Regions from separate parts of the Homo sapiens genome. Here all the other regions are linked to region 4. Evidence: promoter capture Hi-C in 16 types of primary human blood cells and fetal thymus (Javierre and others, 2016). All regions are on one chromosome and are shown on one strand. The core of a region is centred on a gene start or on the middle of the fragment in contact, and the rest is flanking DNA. Distances in the headings are between cores, read along the strand shown.

The links. The method cuts DNA at HindIII sites, captures the fragments that hold promoters and counts their contacts. A CHiCAGO score of 5 or more calls a contact.
Region 1: a fragment that was not itself captured here is called in contact with the fragment with the promoter of DPH6 in region 4 in 9 of 17 cell types (total CD8 T cells, naive CD4 T cells, total B cells and 6 more); the score reaches 10.4 in total CD8 T cells.
Region 2: a contact is called between a fragment that was not itself captured here and the fragment with the promoter of DPH6 in region 4, in 1 of 17 cell types (total B cells). The highest score is 7.8, in total B cells.
Region 3: a contact is called between a fragment that was not itself captured here and the fragment with the promoter of DPH6 in region 4, in 6 of 17 cell types (total CD8 T cells, naive B cells, total B cells and 3 more). The highest score is 10.4, in total CD8 T cells.
Region 5: a fragment that was not itself captured here is called in contact with the fragment with the promoter of DPH6 in region 4 in 2 of 17 cell types (naive CD8 T cells and total B cells); the score reaches 8.0 in naive CD8 T cells.
Region 6: a contact is called between a fragment that was not itself captured here and the fragment with the promoter of DPH6 in region 4, in 5 of 17 cell types (naive CD8 T cells, total CD8 T cells, total CD4 T cells and 2 more). The highest score is 8.0, in naive CD8 T cells.

The regions. Positions count from the first base shown.
Region 1 is chr15:38,245,877-38,249,307 of GRCh38, reverse strand. No RefSeq gene overlaps it. Among named protein-coding and RNA genes, the nearest start is that of SPRED1, 5.2 kb to the left of the region's middle. The HindIII fragment of the contact is 3,413 bases long and covers 356-3,431 here.
Region 2 is chr15:38,084,746-38,088,192 of GRCh38, reverse strand. No RefSeq gene overlaps it. Among named protein-coding and RNA genes, the nearest start is that of LINC01852, 13 kb to the right of the region's middle. RefSeq lists a silencer at 2,119-2,178. The HindIII fragment of the contact is 1,110 bases long and covers 833-1,942 here.
Region 3 is chr15:38,267,875-38,271,196 of GRCh38, reverse strand. The region is part of intron 1 of SPRED1 (sprouty related EVH1 domain containing 1); the gene reads right to left. Among named protein-coding and RNA genes, the nearest start is that of SPRED1, 17 kb to the right of the region's middle. The HindIII fragment of the contact is 2,564 bases long and covers 694-3,257 here.
Region 4 is chr15:35,544,186-35,547,660 of GRCh38, reverse strand. It overlaps DPH6 (diphthamine biosynthesis 6), which reads left to right and starts at 1,496. Exons shown (of 9, transcript NM_080650.4): 1 at 1,496-1,542. The coding sequence starts at 1,520. It overlaps DPH6-DT (DPH6 divergent transcript), which reads right to left and starts at 1,466. Exons shown (of 3, transcript NR_038251.1): 1 at 1,188-1,466. RefSeq lists silencers at 1,024-1,073, 1,374-1,513 and an enhancer at 1,561-2,495. The HindIII fragment of the contact is 1,793 bases long and covers 933-2,725 here.
Region 5 is chr15:38,465,563-38,469,091 of GRCh38, reverse strand. All of the region lies in intron 3 of FAM98B (family with sequence similarity 98 member B), which reads right to left. Among named protein-coding and RNA genes, the nearest start is that of FAM98B, 13 kb to the right of the region's middle. The HindIII fragment of the contact is 742 bases long and covers 1,840-2,581 here.
Region 6 is chr15:38,448,234-38,451,939 of GRCh38, reverse strand. No RefSeq gene overlaps it. Among named protein-coding and RNA genes, the nearest start is that of FAM98B, 4.0 kb to the left of the region's middle. The HindIII fragment of the contact is 4,148 bases long and covers 379-3,706 here.

The sequences.
Region 1 (3,431 bases), core at 813-3,312, 2.7 Mb before region 4:
AGTAGGAAGAATGGGTAAGGATATAGATGAAACAAGATTGGTTATAGATTAATGATGAATACATTCTCTTTACTATTTTATAATTTAAAATGTTCTATAATAATTTTTTTAAAATACACTGCAAGTACTTAAAATGCAGATTCCTAGACCCCAGCTCAGAAATTGTGATCACTAGGTCTATGATGGGGCCATGCTTTTGTAAGTATGCCAGGTGCTTGGCCCTTTTTAGTCCTTCATCATCTACTCCCCCTTTCCTTAAAACCATTTTTGTCATCCTGTCTCCCAGCACATCCGTGATTGAAAGCTGTGTTCCAGCTAAACACAAAAAAGGGTGGCCAGTGGTATATCATAAGCTTAGATAGACACTGGTCAAGGCCAGAGGGATAGTTCAGTTAGGAAAGGGGATCCAGCCAGATGTGAGAAGCTAAATACAGATCACAGTTTTGTCTTAAGCTCCAACTCCATTCAGTTGGTACTAATCAAGAAGAATTCTATGGCCACATTCGGGCTCAGCAAGAAAGGAGATACTTATATTTGCTCAGTTGTGTTTTCTAGGTAGCCCTGTGGGAAGGAAGCTAGTCACAATAGCTGGTTATCACAAGTGACTATCTGTATTATTGTCCTCAGCTTTAGGAATTAGCCACAACCATTTAATGACCTGTTCGAGGTAATTAATTATCAATAGGATCCATGGGCCAAAGAGGGAGGAACAAGAGAACAATTGCCAAGTAATTGCCAGTATAGGATATGATCCAAGTTAAGAAGGTACAAGTGGATTCTGAGTTCCATGTAGGTATCAGGCCAGGGTTTATTCACAAGGACAGCAAAAAGTAGGCTGTCCTCACTGAGACACTGGCAGATGGCATGCTATTTTCCTATTCAAAGTTTCTTTTCTTTTTTTCACATTGCTCAGCCCATAGTAATCATCTTTCTTATGAGTTCAGAATTGGTCTTCTCAGATTCTTTTATTTTTGCCTTTGCTGTTTATACTTGTGTTGATAATTATTATTTTTGCTGATTCATTTTTTATGAGTTTATATTTGTTTTCCCAATTAAATTTTAGTGACTTGAAGGTAGGGGCTGCCCTTTATATTTTTTGGCATCCTTTTTAGCAGTGGTCGTAAGTAATAGAGGCTTTTTAGGTAAAATACTATACCAGAGCCTTGACTATATATAAAAATGAAGCTATACTGACTGGCACTGGAGTTGAAATCAGGAATCCCCTCTGGCTTACTATTGGGACTTAATACTATTGCAGTTTAGCATTTCACATACACTGTGCCTTGCACCAGAAGCTCTCATCAGATATTTGTATTCTTGAGAAGCCAAAAGAGGAGACAGCCATGCCAACATATGAGGTTCTAAAAGTACATAAAATACAAGTGCATATTTCCATTTCTAAAATTACCCTTAACATTACTCCTTAGCAGATGTTATTAAAATTTTGTTTTTTAAAACTGTAGTTAATGTGTGCCTTGATCAATCGGAACTTCCTATTTTCATCATGTACTTTGTTTAATAAATGATTTTTTTTCTTTAGTTTAACCAGTCTCTTGGCTAATGAGCCCTGCCTCTCAGTGGAATTACTAAGTGGTAACCATGTTTCTAAATAGTTTCCTTGCCTCTGGCATGAGTCTGCTTCCCCATCACTAGGATTCCCATGTTCTTCCAAACTAATGCAAAGTATAAAGGATAAGTATGCTGTTTTCCTTTTTTCCCTAAGGACGGCAATTGTTGGTTTGGCAGTATCCGGTGAGTGTGTAATCAGTTTACTTTTAATGCTATAACTGCCTTTTACAGGAAGTTTCCACAAGATTAGGATGAGTACAAGGGAAATGAGCAGTCTGCAATTTCCTTTATTTTCTGTATAATCTTAGCAGGGAGGATGCTTACCAGACCCCACACTACTAAATAAAGCACTTACCATTATTCTCCCAAATGGCTTTAGCATGCTCATTCTTTAACGGTTATGTCCCACTACAACAAATATGAAGGACTGAAATACCCATCATAAAATAATCCAAGGCCACGTGCAACACAAATTTAGTATGACAAAAGATTCTAGGTTGGTTCCTTGGATTTTGCTTTAAATATGGCATTGCTTTCCCTTTTAATGAGTACTAATTAACCATGGTATAGGATTACAACAGGATTACATTTGAAATACACATTGCCCTTCAGGAACTTACCTTCCTAACACCCTTCCCCAGTAGGTATTATTATTAACTCCAGGTTACAAAGAGACTTGCAAACTGAAGATCAGAGAGGTCCCAGAGGTTACACAATAGTAAAGGCATGGCTAGAGCTCAACCCCGTTTCATCCCCTCCTTCAAAATTCTGTGTGTGTGGGTGTGTATGTGTGTATGTTTCAATATTATAATTTCTCAAAGATGGGATATTTGGTGGGATAGACTTTCAAGTCATTATTACTTTGGATAATGATTTAACAGGAGAGTCCTACTTTTAGATAACGAAAGAATTAAATTCCTTGGCTATTATCAGCTGCCTTTTGTGGGCCTCAGGTACGTAAGTTCCTTTATACCATCAGTTCTTAGAGTAGGGTCTGGGGACATCTGGAGTCTCTTTTGTAAATTGGTTTCTAAATCTAGAGCCTTGATAGGAGGACTACTTCAATCAGAAGGCAAATAACATCTGGTTGTCTTTGGGTGATGCTAGCAGATATCGATGATCATGGTAACCACTAGCCATATGTGGCTGTTTATTCCTCAGGTATACTAGCCATGTTTCAAGTGCTCAATAGCCACAAGTGGTTAGTCGCTATCATATTGAACAATCTAGATATAAAACATTTCTGTCATCACGGGTTGTTTTCTTAGACACATGAATGTGCAAATGTGTTGCTGTAAATAACAAAAGTAGTTATCTTGTTATTAAAGTAGACATGTAACAAGGATTATGCTCTCAAATACATTATTAGTGTGAACTGGGGCACTGTAGATCATCTCTTCATTGCCATTAACTAAGGGTAAAAGGGAGGATAATTTCATAATTATCTTTGATGTATAAGTCTTTGATAAACCTACAGAACATATCTATACTGGGAAGCATAAATTCATTGACTGGTTTATTTTGTTAAAAAATGGTTTTTGTTTGTTTAGTTTGGGTTTTTTTTTTTTCTTCCTCTGTTGCCCAGGCTGGAGTGCAGTGGCACAATCTCAGCTCATTGCAATCTCCACTTCCCAGAGTCAAGCAATCCTCCCACCTCAGCCTCCAAGTAGGTGGGACTACAGGCACCCATCACCATGCCCAGCTAATTTTTGTATTTTGTAGAGAGGGGGTTTCGCCATGTTGCCCAGACTGGCCTCAAACTCCTGAGCTCAAGCAATCCATCTGTCTCGGCCTCCCAAAGTGCTGGGATTACAGGCGTCAGCCACCACACCCCGCATATAAAAATGTTTTGGCCAGGCGCT
Region 2 (3,447 bases), core at 138-2,637, 2.5 Mb before region 4:
AACATTTGGATGGGGAAGGGAGGAAGAAGGTATAATTTTGATGCTGGGTGCAGCAATTTTGAATAGTTTTGTTCTGTTTTTTTTTTTTTTAGATGGTGTCTCACTCTGTTGCCCAGGTTGGAGTGCAGAGGCATGATCTCAGCTCACTGCATCCTCTGCCTCACGAGTTTAAGCGATTCTCCCTTCTCAGACTGCCTGGTAGCTGGGATTACAGGCATATGCCACTATGCCCCGCTAATTTTTTATGTATTTTTTTTAGTAGAGATGGGCTTTCACCATGTTGGCCAGACTGGTCTTGAACTCCTGACCTCAAATGATCCGGCTGCTTGAATAGTTTTAAACATTCTTCATGGTAGGCAGTCATGGGAGGGTGCTGCAGAATTCCTGCTCCCTTCCAATGTCAATTTTGGGTACTCCAGGGCACAGACACGGAGTTCGGTTTCCAGCATAACACCTGGCAGTAAGAGGATGAGAAAGGCTTGGAAAGTGGAGATTAGAAAGACCTGAACACAAGTTTAAGGTACTTAACAATTATGCCTGGGGCTCTTCTTGCTTTTAGGTGAATGAAAAAGATGAGACTATTATAATGCTGACACAGATTTGTTTTGCTCTTGGATATTATTTTCCATCCTGGATGCTAACAGGGCATATTGATCTCTGTAGAGGGAACAAGCAGGACGCTTTTAGACAAATGGTTTTGATATTTGCTAATTGAATTCACCCGTGCAAACCATATTGGTTTTCTCAGTATCATCTTCCTGGATCTGGCCACACTGCTGCTGAATCAATGTGGGGAACTGTGGACCTGTTGGTGCAATGAATTTGAGAAGCTTCTGTGCTGCAGAGCTCCAAGGCTGGTCCTGGTAGACTGGTGCTACCCCAAGGATGTCCCATCTTGAATGCACGTATATTCTGGAGCAAGACTTCTAAGGAAGCTACAGAAAACAGTGAGCCTGAGAGAATCACAGAGTCAATGAACAAATGTTTAAACAGTCACTTAATGGCTACTAAACTGATAGAAACTAACAACCAGTTGTCTACAGTGTTTCCTAATTTGGGCTGATCAGATTCATCTGTGAAACTTAAAAAATACAAAAATATTAAAGGAAGGAATTCTTATGGTGACCAAAGTATAAAAGTTCATAAACATAAAAAGTTCGTCTCCTCTCTCCCACCCCCAAATATCTTGATCCCTAAATGTAACTATCAAAAAAACAAAGTTCCTTGGGAAATTTGCTGTTAATAAACAAAGCAGATAGACAGATACATATAGATAAAATGATATCATGCTCTTCATATTATTCTGCAACTTGTTTTTCACTTGAGCAATCAGAATATACAGATCTATTTTTATCTGGTGGTCTGAATTGAAGGACGCTCACATGGCTTTGACTGTCTTTTCCTGCTGGAGATGTGTGGGTGAGACAAAGGCATAGAAGCCACTGGTCCTCTAACTTTACCTGGAGGGCATGTTCAAGTGAGATTACTACTCACATCCTCCCCATTCCGCCCAAAGTTTCTGATTTTAGAAACCTGTCAATAGAGAATTTTAAATAAGACATATACCTTTTATTTTATACATGTTTCCAGGAAGGCATCACTGTGATGCATTATAAACAAGCTGAAACTGCAGTGGGCAGTTTTCCATGGTGGGATATGGAAACACATTCTCTGAAATGTGATTCTTCCTATATCTTCTCTTTCTTACAGTTGGTTCTAAGCAAGAACAGATCTACTGAATGGTGAGAAAATGGACAGGGAGTCTTCAAACTTCCTCCTTGTCTGTGCTCCCAACCTCTTTCTGTGTCCTTTTGCAATCCCTTCAGTAGTTTCTCCATGTGACTACATTTTACTGCTTTTGTCCTTCTTACCAGTCCTTCCTCTTGCTACCAAACTCTTCCTCCTCCTCACTTTAAGAAGGCACTCTTAAAAAGTTGAAGCTTCTAGTCCACCCAGAAACAAATTGAGATAAGCTTTTTGAGAGGCTGCTTTATAGGCTGTTTCAATTCAGAGAGATTAAACAGGATGACCTCACTGAAAAAGAAACCACACTTAATAGCTTTAAATGGGACTGCTCTTAGCTGGGTCACCCTGAACCACTGCATACACTTCTTGTTTCAAGTGAATGTGGTGGTTTGGGCCAGAGTGAGTTGTCCGTGAGATAGTTTAAATGCCTTTGCTTTCAGAAATGAGCCAACACCTTACAATGTAAGCAGAGGGAGGGAATATGTAGGTTTGTCTGATATTCAATCCCAAACCCTGAATCCTATTCCTGAGACATCTTGGGAAACTGGCATTCTCTTTCTCTGCTTCTCTCAATGAGAAATTTGTGGAATGCAAGTTCTTCAGAATAGAGACTCCATCCATGTCTCACCCACGTTTATCCTAAATTAGGGACTTCAGATGAACACAGTTTAAGGTAACAGCAAAGAGCATCTCCTTTAAATCAGAAAGACCAGATCTCCACTCCCAGCTTCACTATCAGGGCTGTTGTTGGGGTCAAATAATAAGTTCATACAAGAGCTTATCACAATACTTAGAACACAGTAAATATTTAACACATTTTAATTATTTGTTAGTTTTTATCTTGAAATGGAAGCTGCCTCTATCAACAGCCAACATAAAGAACTCTGGGCTCTGTCCCAAAATATGTGGCCCAAATTTTAACTAAATCAAGACTTCTAGAAAGCTTTTCCTAAATCTCTTTGACTTCGTGAGGGATACTAACTTTTAGTAGCTTGCTCTCTCAGTCTTCTAAAGGGGAAACAGATTTTGCCAACATTAGGAAGTCTTCATTATTAATAGACATTGTTTTGAGTTCCCCCTGGCCAAGTTGCTGACTCAATACTTCTTGTTTTAGAAAAAGGAAGTAGCTGAAAGGCACCTGTTAATGAGACTAAAGTACCACAGTGTCTGTGTGTGTGGGTGGGTGTGGGTGTGTGAGCGCGCACACGTGCGAGAGAGGTGGGGAGAGACAATGAGAGAGAGAGAGAAGAGAGTTAAATCCCATTCTTCGAGTGAATATGAAAACCATCATATAGAAAGATGAGGTTCACGGTATATCAATTTTCTTGAAATGTCTAACTTTTATTTTCCCTTAAACATGCTTTTTAATTTTTGCCCTTAAGAAGTGTACAATAGACAAACCAATTGTTACTGTAATGGAAAGATTTTATTTCCTATAGCTTTCTTGATAAATAAAATTATTAAATTGGAATTGCCATTAACTTAGTTATAGAGTTCTGCAGTGTTACATCAAGTTATGTATTAAAGAAATTTAAAGAGGGTTTTGTAAGATGAGTGAAGGATGTACTTCATTCTAACTCAGTCCTTTTTCTTAGAACAGCCTTTTCTAATACAGCAGGACAAGACCTGTGGCCTTAAAGAGAGGTTTCAAACAAGGCACGTTACTTTCCTCTTTTATTAATTGATTCAAGCTTATCATGG
Region 3 (3,322 bases), core at 726-3,225, 2.7 Mb before region 4:
AGAATCTAAACACTTTAACATCTGACATTTAGATAATATCACACTTTGGCATGATACACGGATAATTAGGTATTTATTATTGGGTCTAATGACTTTGTCGCTCAATAATTATTAAGTAAATTCTCATATCACCAGAAGAATCATTTTTATATAATATTTATCTTTAAAAACCCAGTGTCTAAAAGGTAAAATAAAGCAAAACAAACAAATGAACAACAATCTATGGTTCATCTAGCAGATCATAAAGATGATTAGCTTTACAAAGCACTACCTCAAAGGTATCAACAAGAAATGTTTAAAGAAAACATTTCACTCAGTTCAAGAGACATATGTACAAAAGCTGATATATGAAGATTAGTATACTAATTAGTATATATACATACATACATACATTTTTTTAATTTAAAATTCAACAAGTATTAAGAAAGGAATAACTTCTCAATTTAATTTAATGCTGATTTGGTTTGGCTCTGTGTCCCCACTGAAATCTCAGGTCGAGTATGTAATCCCCATGTGTTGAAAGAGGGGCAGACTACCCCCTCGCTGTTCTTGTGATAGAGTTCTCAGATCATCTAGTTGTTTGAAGTGTGTAGCACTTCCCACTTGGCTCTCTCCTGCTCTGCCTTGCTAATACTTGCTTCCCCTTTGCCTGCCACCATGATTGTAAGTTTCCTGAGGCCTCCCTGCCAAGCTTCCTGTATAGCCTACAGAACTGTGAGTTAATTAAACCTCTTTTCTTAATAATTACCCATCTCAGATGGTTCTTTATAGCAGTGAGAACAGACTAATATAAATGCCATGTCTGTGAAACAACTAAAATTATCTTACATACCAGTGGCAAATTCCACATTTTGGAAAAAGCTATGCTACCTCAAGTTACCTCTCCATGAAAAAACAATTAGAAACTTTCTTCAGCAGAGTGAATGGAGAACATGTCATAGTTTTCAAAAAAGGTGTTGGGCTTGAAGGAATAGAAATGTTCCAGATTTGGGCTGGGCATGGTGGCTCATGCCTGTAATCCCAGTACTTTGGGAGGCCGAGGCAGGCAGATCACCTGAGGTCGGGAGTTCATGACAGCGTGGCCAACATGGTTGAAACCCCGTCTCTATTAAAAATACAAAATTAGCCGGGCATGGTGGCACACGTCTTTAATCCCAGCTACTCGGGAGGCTGAGGCAGGAGAATCACTTGAACCTGGGAGGCAGGGGTTGCAGTGGTCTAAGATCGTGCCACTGCACTCCAGCCTGGGAGACAGAGCAAGACTCTGTCTCAAAAAAAAAAAAAAAAAAAAGAAAGAAAGAAATGCTCCAGATTTGTGCCATCCAATACAGCAGTCAACACTGGCCACTTGTGGCTATATAAATTAAATAAAATTTAAAATTTAACTCCTCAGTCACTCAAACCACTTCAAGTACAGCCAAATAACTATATAGTAGCTACCATAGTGGATACCACAAACAGAATGTTTCCATCATCACAGAATGTTCTATTGTACTCACTGCTTTAGATTCTCAAAGAATTCTAATAAAGCCCAACTGGCAGCAAATGGAAGTAAAAATTTTAGCAGATAACAAAGGTAGTATCTTTCAGTAAAGTAACAAACATTTGGAAAAAACAGTGAGAGACAATGAATTAAATGCTAGTAGTAAGGGCCAGGCATGGTGGCTCACACCTGTGATCTCAGCACTCTGGGAGGCTGAAGTGGGAGGACCACTTGAGCTCAGGAGTTGAGACCAGCCCGGCTGGCCAACAAAATCAAGACCCTGTCTCTACAAAAAAATTTAAAAATTACTGGGCATGGCGGCAGGCACCTGTAGTCCAAGCTACTCAGGAGGCTGAGACAGATTAATCACTTGAGCCTGACAGTTCGAGGTTAGCGTGCTGTGATTGTGCCACTGCACTCCAGCCTGTGTAACAAAGTGAGAGACACTGTCTCTTAAAAAAAAGTTAGTACTGGCTGGGTGCGGTGGCTCACGCCTGGAATCCCAGCACTTTGGGAGGCTGAGGCGGGCAGATCACAAGGTTAGGAGATCCAGACCACCCTGGCTAACACACGGTGAAACCCCGTCTCTACTAAAAATACCAAAAAAATTAGCCAGACATGGTGGTGGGCACCTTAGTCCCAGCTACTCAGGAGGCTGAGGCAGGGGAATAGCGTGAACCCGGGAAGCGGGGCTTGCAGTAGCCGAGATCGCGCCACTGCACTCCAGCCTAGGCGACGGAGCGGGACTCTGTCTCAAAAAAAAAAAAAAAAAAGAAAAAAGTTAGTACTATAAATATGATTTCTGTTTCTACAACTCCTTTATAATCTGATGATTTCAAAGACTGAAAATGTACTGAGGTAGATAGGAATCCCTCTCCAACTAAGATGATATGGTTACTATTAAGGAATGAACAGTAAAAACTTAGAAAACAAGGTTAAGAGACTGAAGCCATACACTTTTAACACAACCTGTGAAAAATCTTTTAATTACCTTACTTTCATTAACATAAAGCAATAAGGAAAGTATGCTCAAATAACACAGTATTAACAATATCTTTTTAAATGATGGGTCCTGTATGATGATTTATCATTTACTATACCCTGGTCACTTTTAAATGTTTAGGCTATTCCCCCACCCCCTACATGGTCTCAACATCCTTGTGAATTTGTTTGGGAATGACTGGTAGTCACAAGGGTAAGTGTATCACGCACACACATAACTTTTCACAAAACAACTTAGACTTACTGTGACAACACACAGGCTGACTTTGGTATTCTATTCCATTCTACATGGAAACATAATGCTGATGGAGACCCATTGCCATTGAAAAATTCCCTGTTCTAAACTACTGTGAAGTATTTGGGATGTTGTTCTCCTCTAAGGATGTACCTCCGTGTTGGTAGTGAAGATTCACATTTATGTTCAGCTTATTTCATGAAAATAAGAGATAATACTAAAAGGCATAGGATACTCACAAGAGTGGGTTTCAAGGCTGAGCTGTGAGGGACTGCAGAAGAATTCAGAATTGAATTGCTGTAGCTAGAGTAGAGACAGCAAATGTTATTACATCATTGCTTTTTCAGATGTCTTCACTGAAGTGCTCCAAATGATATAGCAATGTATTGCAAATTAATCTTTTATAAGTATATAATTATTTGTAAATCCAGTAAACTAACTCAGAGTTATGTGAACACTGAATTCTAATCACTAGGACAGTTGTTTTCCCAATATGAAATGTTTTTAATTATGTGTATTAGGAAAAGATGGAAAGCTTTTTAAACACTAAATCTTTTCATATGTATATCCTATGGGCATACGTGCGTGTATGTACACTGCTG
Region 4 (3,475 bases), core at 247-2,746:
TAGACTGTCACTGCTCTAGTCACCCCTACTATTAGAGTTGAGAATGTCAAAATAAAATTGAATGCTTACTATGTACCTGGCATAATTTTAAGTTCCCTACATATATTAACTTACTTAATTCATGCCTTTGGCATCATCCCTCATGACTTTCTTTCTCTTGTATCCCATATCGAATTTGATTCTATTGGCTCTATCTTCAAAATAGAGCTGGAATCCTCTTACTTCTCACCAAATTCACCATGTTGATTCTAGGCTCCGCCATCTCTCTACTGGAACACTGTAACAGCTTCCTAATAGGTGGATTCTCAACACTGCAATCCTTTTAAAATTTTAAGTCACACCCTTCAAAAGTCTGCAATTACCTACAAGACCCTATATAATCCTTCCCCTCCATCACCTTAACCTGCTCTCCACTACTCTCTGCTTTGCTCAATCTGCTCCAGCAACACGGATCTGCCTTAATCTTCCACAAACACACAACGCACCTAGAGCCTTCGATTTTTTTTTCTTGTCTGGAGCACACCCCAATCATACACATAGCGAACTCTCCTTATTTAAATTGGCTCAACTCTCATCTTACCAATAAGGCCTACATAGACACGATTTAATTCTGCAATTTGCCTCTCCACCTCTCTCCTGACTCTCCCCCACCGCACCCCGCCCCTTTCCAATAGCACTTTTCACTCTTCAACAGACTATTTACCTTTAAGATATGTATTGTCTGTTCTCTCCATCCCCATTTAAGCTCTATGCCCGGAATGCCGGGTTTTTGTTTTATTTACGGTTGTATCCACAGAGTCTAAAACAGTGCCTGGTACACGAAAGGCACTCAATACATACTTGGCAAATAAACTTAGAAGCTAGATTTTCTTTCTGCAAGGCCATTGCTCTTTGGTGAAGAGCCTGGCCTGGCCTTGTCAAATACACAAGCTTGACCAAGAGCCAAAGCCACAGAGGGCCTAGAGGTGGGGGGGGCTAGCCCCAGATTTAAAAATTACCACAGCCCCTGGGGATCTGAGTTTCACATCTGGACACACAGGTTTGGAGGACAGAGGAGATGTAAGTTAAAAAGCAGAAGTGTACAGTTGTTTCTGTTCTGTGGGGTGAGGAAGGACAAATTTCTTCTGCGCTTGCACGTCCGCAACTGTGTCAATTTGCAGCAATTGGGACGCTAAATCCCCTCTTACCAAAACAAATCCTGCGCCACTGGGCTTGGGCTCTGCAACGCGGACCTTGCCCTTCCCCCGGCAGCTTCAGTGCCCTCACTTAGGTGGTTAGGCCGTGCCTAAACCTCATTCTTTCCTGGGCCGAGATGTCCCTGCCACAGGGTCAAGGTGCCAAGGTGCCGCACCCTCCGCGCTCAGGTGTCCCGCAGGCAGCCGCGGGGCTCGCAGCGCCGATCCGCGGACAGGCGGCGGAGCGAACACCCGGGCGAGGCCCCGCGGTGCGTCACGCGAGCTGCGGCGCGACCTCCTGGCTCCCGCCCGCGCTCGCCGCACGCACGCGCACTGCGCCCAGCATGAGGGTCGCGGCTCTGATCAGGTAATGCGGTCCTGGAGCCGCCTCCTTCCTCCTAGGCCAGGCTCTCGTCCCTTCCAGCCGCCGCTAGCGCCGAAAGAGTGGGTGTCTCCGTCTGAGTCGCGCGTTGGGGGTTCCGCGGCTCCTCCGAGCCACAGGAAGAGGCGGAGCCTTCGCTGTTGCCGGCCCGCATGTGCCTCGGCCCCTGGCTGGCGCGCCTCCTCCCTGTCTGTCGCTCTCTGGTCTTCTAGCCCTTAAACTTGGATTCCCATTGGATTCAAGTGGGAAATTAAAAAAAGTACCGACGCCTGGGCCCCACCGCCAGAGGGATTGGTTTAATTACTTCTGTGCGACCCGGCGTCTGATTTTTTTTTTTCAAGCTCTAATGAGCCGTGAAGTTTGGAGCCACTACCTTATTCCATCAACTCAGTTAATAACCCTCGCCCTTTCCCCCTCGCTTTCTTCGTCCTCTTCTGTAGTTCCTTTGGTCAGCTGGGTCCGCCGCAGCCTGGCTTCCTCCCTAGTTGTAAGTGTTTCCGCCCATCCCAAGAAGTCCACCCCTCCCTCATCTTCACAGATGTGGATTGCTTATGGCATGTGTGTGTTTCTGCCTTTGGGCACTCAAGTACAGAGATCTCTCTTCGTGGTAGAGACCGAATTGTACTAGTCTTATGCTAGATCCAGTTGCTGTTGCTTCGGACTCTCATCATTGCTTTAGAGTGACCTTACCCTATACTCCGTATTCCAAAAGGAGTTTGATGTCTGTAGTAACCAAATCATAAATTTAAGTGTCTAAATAAGTCCTGTGACTGACAAACCAAAAACAAACCTGCTTAAATATTTCCATACTCAATCTATAAACTGAGGCAGAAGGGAACACACTAGCAACATTAAAAAGTTAGACTACTTAAATACTTGTTTCATGAGATTTTGCCCTGTAGAGTGTCTTAGATACAGTGCAACGATGTGCTTGCTTTTGTAATCCAATTGAAGATTTCATAAACGTTTTCGTTAAGTCCCTTAGGTAATTGATACTGGCTGTAAGTTTTGACCTATTAAGGACTTGATATGAGATTTCAGACCTACTGTAGTGTCTGGAATATTCCGGTTCCCTTTCCTTCAATGTCATTTTTAGGAGACTAGACCATAATGTCACAATAATTATTGTTGTTCAGTAAATGTCCTCTGTAACATAAATGATTAAGCTTTAACCATTGTGTCTTATTTTAAGAATTAAAAGTACCCCAGGAAGTGAATAATTCAAATTTACATCGCTTGCCAAAAGTTTAACGATTAAAGTAAAGCACAACAAACAAAGACTTAGAAGTATTGGAGGGGAGGAGAGAAGATTGGTAGAGTCAGTTACACTAAATAACCTGTAATGTGCATATGTTGCTTTATAATAAAAAAAGTTTGCTAAAAAAGCAATGTTGGAAAATTCTTGCTGAAGCGTAAGAGCTGTAAGGACATATGCTGTAAGTATGAATACGTAAGCATTTACCTGTATGCTTATGATACAGATGCCTATGTATTCTATATATATGCATTATATATAATTATGTATTATAAGTGAATAAGTGAAACTGGGATTCTTACATATCTTTCTAAGAAGATTATTTTCCTTTTTTAAATTTTTTTTTTATTATACTTTAAGTTCTGGGTTACATGTGCAGAACGTGCAGTTTTTTTACATAGGTATACATGTGCCACGGTGGTTTGCTGCACCCATCAACCCATCACCTACATTAGGTATTTCTCCTAATGTTATCCCTCCCCTAACCCCCAAACCCCCACAGGCCCCAGTGTGTGATGTGCCCCTCCCTGTGTCCATATGCTCTCATAGAACATTATTTTTCTAATAAATAAATGAGTCTTTGAATTTTATAGTTGAATGTTATTTTGAGGATTATCCAGGCAGACCATTCATTAATTTGCAATGAAGTATGCAAACCTAAGC
Region 5 (3,529 bases), core at 961-3,460, 2.9 Mb before region 4:
TCTACTAAAAGTACAAAAATTAGCCAGGCATGGCAGCATGCGCCTGTAGTCCCAGCTACTAGGGAGGCTGAGGCAGGAGAATTGCTTGAACCCAGAGGCGAAGGTTGCACTGAATCGAGATCGTGCCATTGCACTCCAGCCTGGGTGACAGATCAAGATTCCATCTCAAAAAATACATAAATAAATACTTTGTTTTTATTTGTTTAGTTAAAATTAGACACAAACGCCACAATTTAATATAGCAGTTTTAACTTCAGCTGAGCAAAAATACATCTGAAAAACAATTTAAAAGTACAGGTGCCAGGGTCCCATCCTCTGAGATTCTGAACAGTAGATCTACAAGTAGGAGTTGGGCATCTGTGTGTGGTTTGTTTTAGACCCAGTATGATTGCCAAGGTCAGGCAAGATTGAGGGTCACTGGTTTAAAGACTTTTCCATGCAGTCTACACATGACAGTTTAAAGAGTCAAGTACCAAAATATTAAGATCAATTATTAAACTTTAAGACCAATATTAAACTTTCCTTATGAGGACTATACTAAGGTCCTTCTGACTTAAAAACTTCATTAAGACCAGCTATGGTGGCTCAGGCCTGTAATCCCAGTATTTTGGGAGGCTAAGGTAGGAGGACAGCTTGGGCCCAGGAGTTTAAGACCTACCTGGGCAACACAGACCCATCTTTACAAAATATTTTTTAAAAATTTGCTAGGCATGGTGGTGTACGCCTGTAGTCCCAGTTATGCAGGCTGAGATGAGAGGATCGCTTGAGCTCCAGAGTTTGAGGGGCTACAATCGCACCATCACACTCCAGCCTGGGCAACACAGTGAGACCCCATCTCATAATAAAAACTTGATTAAACTTGATTAAAACAGATTGCCAGTTTTTCAAAAATTTATATTTTAGACAGAACCTTGGCTGAAGTCTACTTTTGCTCTATGGAAACATGCTTTCTCCATGTAATAGTACAAACAAGGGTTTAGCATTTACGATGCTAATCCATGCAGATAGTAAGCAGTAGAGGGAAAATTAAGCCTTCTTCCTTTTGCAGATCCTTAGATTCCCCCTTCCCAGAGGCAATCACCATTAATTTCTTGGGTATCCTTTTAGGCATGTGTGTGTGTATGTATTCAAGATACCTAGTAGCCATCTGTGTGCGTTTGTTCCTTTTATACAAACAAGAACATGCTATACATGTCCTGTATATTTATTTTGTATTTACCAACATATCTTAGAGATCATTCCACATCAGCACATTTGATTTATCTGCATTCTTCCTATTACCTATCTAGTGACATCACTGCATTAATGTACCACTTCTATTTATCTATATTTATGGACACTCAGGTTTCTGGTCTTTTTATTACTACAATGTCATAATGAACATGGTTTTCATTTATCTTTGTACACTTGGGGAAATAGATATATATTCATAGACAAACAATTGCCAAGTCAAAAGAATTGCCAAGTCCAAAAGCCAAGTGAATTTTAATGTGACATTGAAAATGTGTCCTCCTAAGAGGCTGTACAAGTTATTCTCCCACCACAGTCTAATGTCTGTAGTATACGAAAAGGCTTACTCCCCCAAACTTCTATTATGATTTTTTGAGTGAAAAATGGTATCCTGTCATAAGTGATATTGTGCATCTTGTCATGCTTAGAAGCAGTTAAAAAAAAATTTTCTGTAGAATGCGTGTTCATGTCTTATGTATTTTACACATTTTCCCAGTGGATTTTTATCTTTTTCCTGTTGATTTATAAAAGCTCTTTACATAGTACAGGATTTGGCCCTTTTAATTTTATACATGTTGCAAACACTTTCAAAAAGAACATGAAGAAGCTTATTATATCAATATGATTAAAACAGTCAAACTGAAGAAAGACTAGATGCTGGTAAGACTGTGAACTAGTATAACCTTTCTGGAGCAAAATATGGCAATATACATCTAGACCGGAGACTATTTTAAATGTTCCTAATCTTTGTCTAAGTAAGCAAAAATATAAACAAGGAAATCATTTTAAAATAGAAAAAAATCCAAATACCTCCAAATTTGAAATCTATTACACATAATGTTATGTCAATAGCAGAGCCAATTTAGTTTTTCAAAAAACAAGTGATAGGGAAATAAAGAGAAAAACGACACATCAAATGAAGAGGAGGAGGAGAAGGATCTGAAACAGGATCTTAATCTTATTTAAGAGTGAGTGCGAGTGTGAGAGTGTTGTGTGTATGTACACAGAAAACAGAGACACAATATTCTCTCTAGGGAGTGAGATTATAAATGCTTTTCTTCTTTATGTTTTATGTATTTTCTAAGATTTCTATGATAAGCATGTAATTTTTGCACATATAAAATTTACCATTTTAATCATTTTTAAGTATACAGTTCTATGACGTCACCATCCATCTTCAGAACTTTTTCGTCTTCCTCACTGAAACTCTGTACCCATTAAACACTAACTCCTCATCACCGCCCTCCTGAACATGTTATTTTTATAATCAGAAAAAAACTATATATTTCTGTTAAATTTCTTTTTTATTCCTACTTGTACCAGAAACCTGTATCACTACAATTGCTAAGCTTCTTAGCAGCTAAGGAGAAAGGGAACCATGATGGATTACATAATTCTCATTGACTGATATTAAGGATATGCAAGTTCCTCTAGCCGGTGTTTCCTAGGTTCCTTTCTGTCCCAATATACCTAAGAGTTACTGTGATCTCCCAATAACAGTGGTTCATTAAATCAGTGACTCACACCAAATGGGAGGAAGATGGAGAATGGTGTATTGGGATGGAGAGAGAGGGCATATAATTTTTATCCCCACTCAACACACACAAGGTAATTTCAATGCCAATACTTTTGTCACCACTAAACACACACACACACACACACACACACACACACACACAAATTTCATCTCTAATGAAACAAACTTTATTAAAACACTAGCGCCTAGGAGGAATATGTCACGTGTAATCTTTTTATAAATGGCATGATCTGAAATAGAAATCTTCAATAATAGAAGGTATTAGAAAAATTCTTTCAAATAGTCATTGTTTGTAGAACTTTAAAAACATTATAAAATTAGCCTAAAGTAAAAAAATGATGAAAGGAACCCAACACAAACATGGACCTACTATTTATGGTAATTGTTTGAATACAGTATGACCTATATTCCAAATCCCTCCCTGATGAAACTGGCCACATTTAAAGTGTCCTAAAGGCACAAATTTTATATTTTTTAAAAAAAAACAAAACAAGCAACCCTCATATATCCCTAGTATCCAGAGCAGTTCTTGGTGTTAGAGTAAGTGATCAACAAATTATCATCCAGTGCCTAGTTTCAGAGAGTTTTTAGATTAAATAGGACTTTGGAGATCATCAATGTTAGCCATATAGTCACGAACAATAACAGATAGAATGAGATAAAGGAAAAATTACTAAAGTACTATATAAATCACAAACACAGGACATTCTATATTGGCCAAATAAATCACAAGTGTTAGAAGGCATACTGGTAAAATTTATA
Region 6 (3,706 bases), core at 1,203-3,702, 2.9 Mb before region 4:
TAGTCCTAGCTATTGAGGAAGCTAGGGCAGGACGATCAGGATTGCTTGAGCCCAGGAGGCCGAGGCTGCAGTGAGCTGTAATCAAGCCACTGCACTCCAGCCTGGGCAACAGAGTGAGACCCTATCTCAAAAGAAAAAAAAAAGCATGACAGATATTTGAAAAAACTGAAAAGGTCTAACATAGTAAATGGAATAATTGGACTCCAACAAGACCCTTGAAAAAATGAGACAGAAGCAAGAAGAGACTCTGCTAAAAATTTCCTGACAAAACACTGATCCAAGAGCACTGTTAATGTCAACCAGGACGTATACAAAGAAATTCACAATTTAGGAAAATTTTTGTAAAAATGCTGAAAACAAAAGATAGAAGGAAAAGCTTAAAAGCAGCTGGAGAAAAAAATCAAACTTTAACAATAATATAAGCTGACTTCTCAAAAGAAACAATGGAAGCAAGAAAATCATGAAACAACATCTTTCATATGCTTTAAATAATGACAAATCCAGAATTTTACACAGTGGAAATATCCTTAAGAAATGAAGGCAAAATAAAGATGTTTTCAGATAAACAAAACTCATGTAAATTGTTTCCAGCAGACCCATGTCAAAAGAAATATTAAAGAGGGTTCTTCGGGTTAAAAAAATGATGCCAGATGAAAAAAAAATGATGCCAGATGAAATCCCAATGGTGCAAAAAATAATGAAGAGTATCACTGGAAATGGTAAATATGTAAGTGAAACTAGATATATATTGACTATTCAAAACAGTAATAGTAATGACTTCTGAAATGTAAAATATAGAGAGAATTCAGGGGGTGAGGTGCTGACAAAGAGTTTAAAAACAATAATGTTCTTCCATTATCCAGGCAGTGGTAAAATAATGAATTTATGGTAGCAAATCAAGATTGCATATTGCCATCATTTAGGTAATCACTAACAGAATTATGAAATAGTATATAACTAACAACTAAGAAAAGGGAGAAATGGAATAATGAAAAATACTTACTAAATCTAAAAGAAGGCAAAAATGGAAGATAAAATATCAAACCAAAACATGGCTGGGTAGCAATATTAATATTAGAAAAAATAGCTATTAACACAGAAGCATTATAATATTACAGAGAGATAAATAGGGACATTTCATAATGATAAAAGGGTCATGACGCAGAAAACCATAAGAATTCTAAATGTTTATTTGCTTAATAACCAGCCTCAGAGTATATAAATTTAAAAGCCAACAACTTAAAGGAGAAATAGACAAAGTCACAATCACATTAACTAATATAACAAGCAGTCAAAAAAAATCAGTAGGCATAAAATATTCCAAGTCAATAAGACTTGGAAAACATAATTTATAAATTTGACCTAATTGATATAGATAAATCTCTACCCCTCCCAAAACTTCAGAATATGCATTTTTCAAGTGCACATGTAATTTATAAAACTTAACCCTATAGTGGATCCTAAAGTAAGTCTCACCAAATTCAAAATTGAAATCATAAAGAGCATGTTCTCTGACTAAAGTGGATTTAAAATACGAATTAATTCCCGAGTATGAGATTGTCTAACAAAAAAAATAAGGAATTAAGAATTTAAAAAGAAAACTAAAAAATCCCTTAACTAATTGATGGGAATTCAAGCAATACACTTCTAAATAACCAGGCCTCAAACTAGAAATTATAATGGATATTAGAGAGTTTTGAACTGAGTGATAATAAAAACACAACATATCAACACATGCAGGATTCAACATATGTGGATTCATTCTTAGAGGAAAATATATAGCATTAGGTGTGAATATTAGAAATGAAAAAAGATTAAAAATTACTTAAGTATCAATCTTAAGAGGCTGAAAAACAAATGAAATCCAAAGAAGCAGAGAAATAAAAACAATAAAGAGTAGACACCAACGAAATAGGAAGAAAATGCAATAGAGAAAATTAAGCCAAAATCTGAGTCTGCAAAGGCTAATAAAATTGACAGATCTTTAGCAAGGCTGATCAAGGTGGGGGAAAAGAACAAACAACCAATATAAGAAATGAAAAATATCAGTACTATTTATCAGACATTAAATAGTTAAAAGAGAATGTTATGAACAACTTTAAATTTAAAAATTTAAAGGAAGTTGATAAATTTCTTGCAAAATACAATTTAACAAATATCAGAAAAAATTAAAATATGAATGGTTCAGTATCTATTAAAGAAACTTAATCACTAATTAAAATTCATCCACAAAGAAAACTCCAAGCCTAGATTGCTTTCCTGATGAATTCCTCCACATAAGTAGCACCATTCTTACACAAACTTTCCAAGAGACCAGGAAAACATGGAGCATTTTCAATGTTTTCTGTGAAGACAACCTAATCTTAAAACAAACACCAATGAGGACATTACTAAAAAGGGAATCTGTAGACTAATTTCCCTCATGAATATAGAGCTGCACTTTCAAAGTCACCTAAGTAATGACCAAGTTGCCATTTCAGTTCAGGCCTTTTCAACATACAGTGCTGGCAATGGGATATCCAGATCTTCCACTTCAACCTCATGCTATACACAAAAATTAACTCCTGATAATGGTAGATGTAAATTAAAAGAGAAAACAATAAAGTTTTTAGGAGATAACATAAACTGTCTTCATGAACTTGAGATAAGCAAAGATCTCTAAATATACTGGTTAGGGCTTTTGTGTCCTATTTCAGAAATCTTTGTGGCTGGGCATGGTGGCTCACGCCTATAATCCCAGCATTTTGGGAGGCCGAGGAGGGCAGATCATGAGGTCAGGAGATCGAGACCATCCTGGCCAACATGGTGAAACCCTGTCTCTACTAAAAATACAAAAATTAGCCATGTGTGGTGGCGCACACCTGTAGTCCCAGCTACTCAGGAGGCTGAGGCAGGAGAATTGCTTGAACCGAACCCTGAGAAGGAGGTTGCAGAGAGCTGAGGTTGTGCCACTGCACTCCAGCCTGGCGAGAGAGCGAGACTCCCTCTCAAAAGAAAAAAAGAAAAAAAAGAAAAGAAATCTTTGCATATTTTACAGAACATGATGATATTCTATATTATGTTGGCAACTTGGTCTTTATTAAATTAAGATCTGAAAAAGATTCCATTAAAAAAGCCAGAATGCAAGCTACACAAATGAGAGAAAATATTTGTGATACATGTATTTGACAAGGGACTCCTATTCAGATTATGTAAAGAAATCCTTCAAATCAATTAGACAAAGACAATTCACAACTAACTCAAAGTTGGGAGAAGAAAAGTGGAAAAAAGAGTTGAATAAACATTTCACAGAAGAGAATATTCAAACCACCGAAACCTACACGAGACAGTGCTCAATCTCATTGGCATTAGAGAAATGCAAATCCAAATAATCAAGACATATTACTACATACACAGAAAGAAAGGCTAAAATCCTCCCTCAAACAAACAAACAAACAAAACCTTGACAATATCAAAGATTGGCAAGAATGTTAACACTGGAACTCTTATACACTGTTTTTTAATTAATTAATTTAGTTTTTTTATTTCAATTTTTTTGGAATATCAGTGGTTTTTGGTTACATGGATAAGTTCTTTAGTGGTAAATTCTCAGATTTTAGTGCACACGTCACCCAGGCAGTGTATACTGTACCCAATATGTAGTCTTTTATGCCTCACCACCCTCCCAAACATAGTTTCCCCCACCACCACCAAAGTCCCACCACCG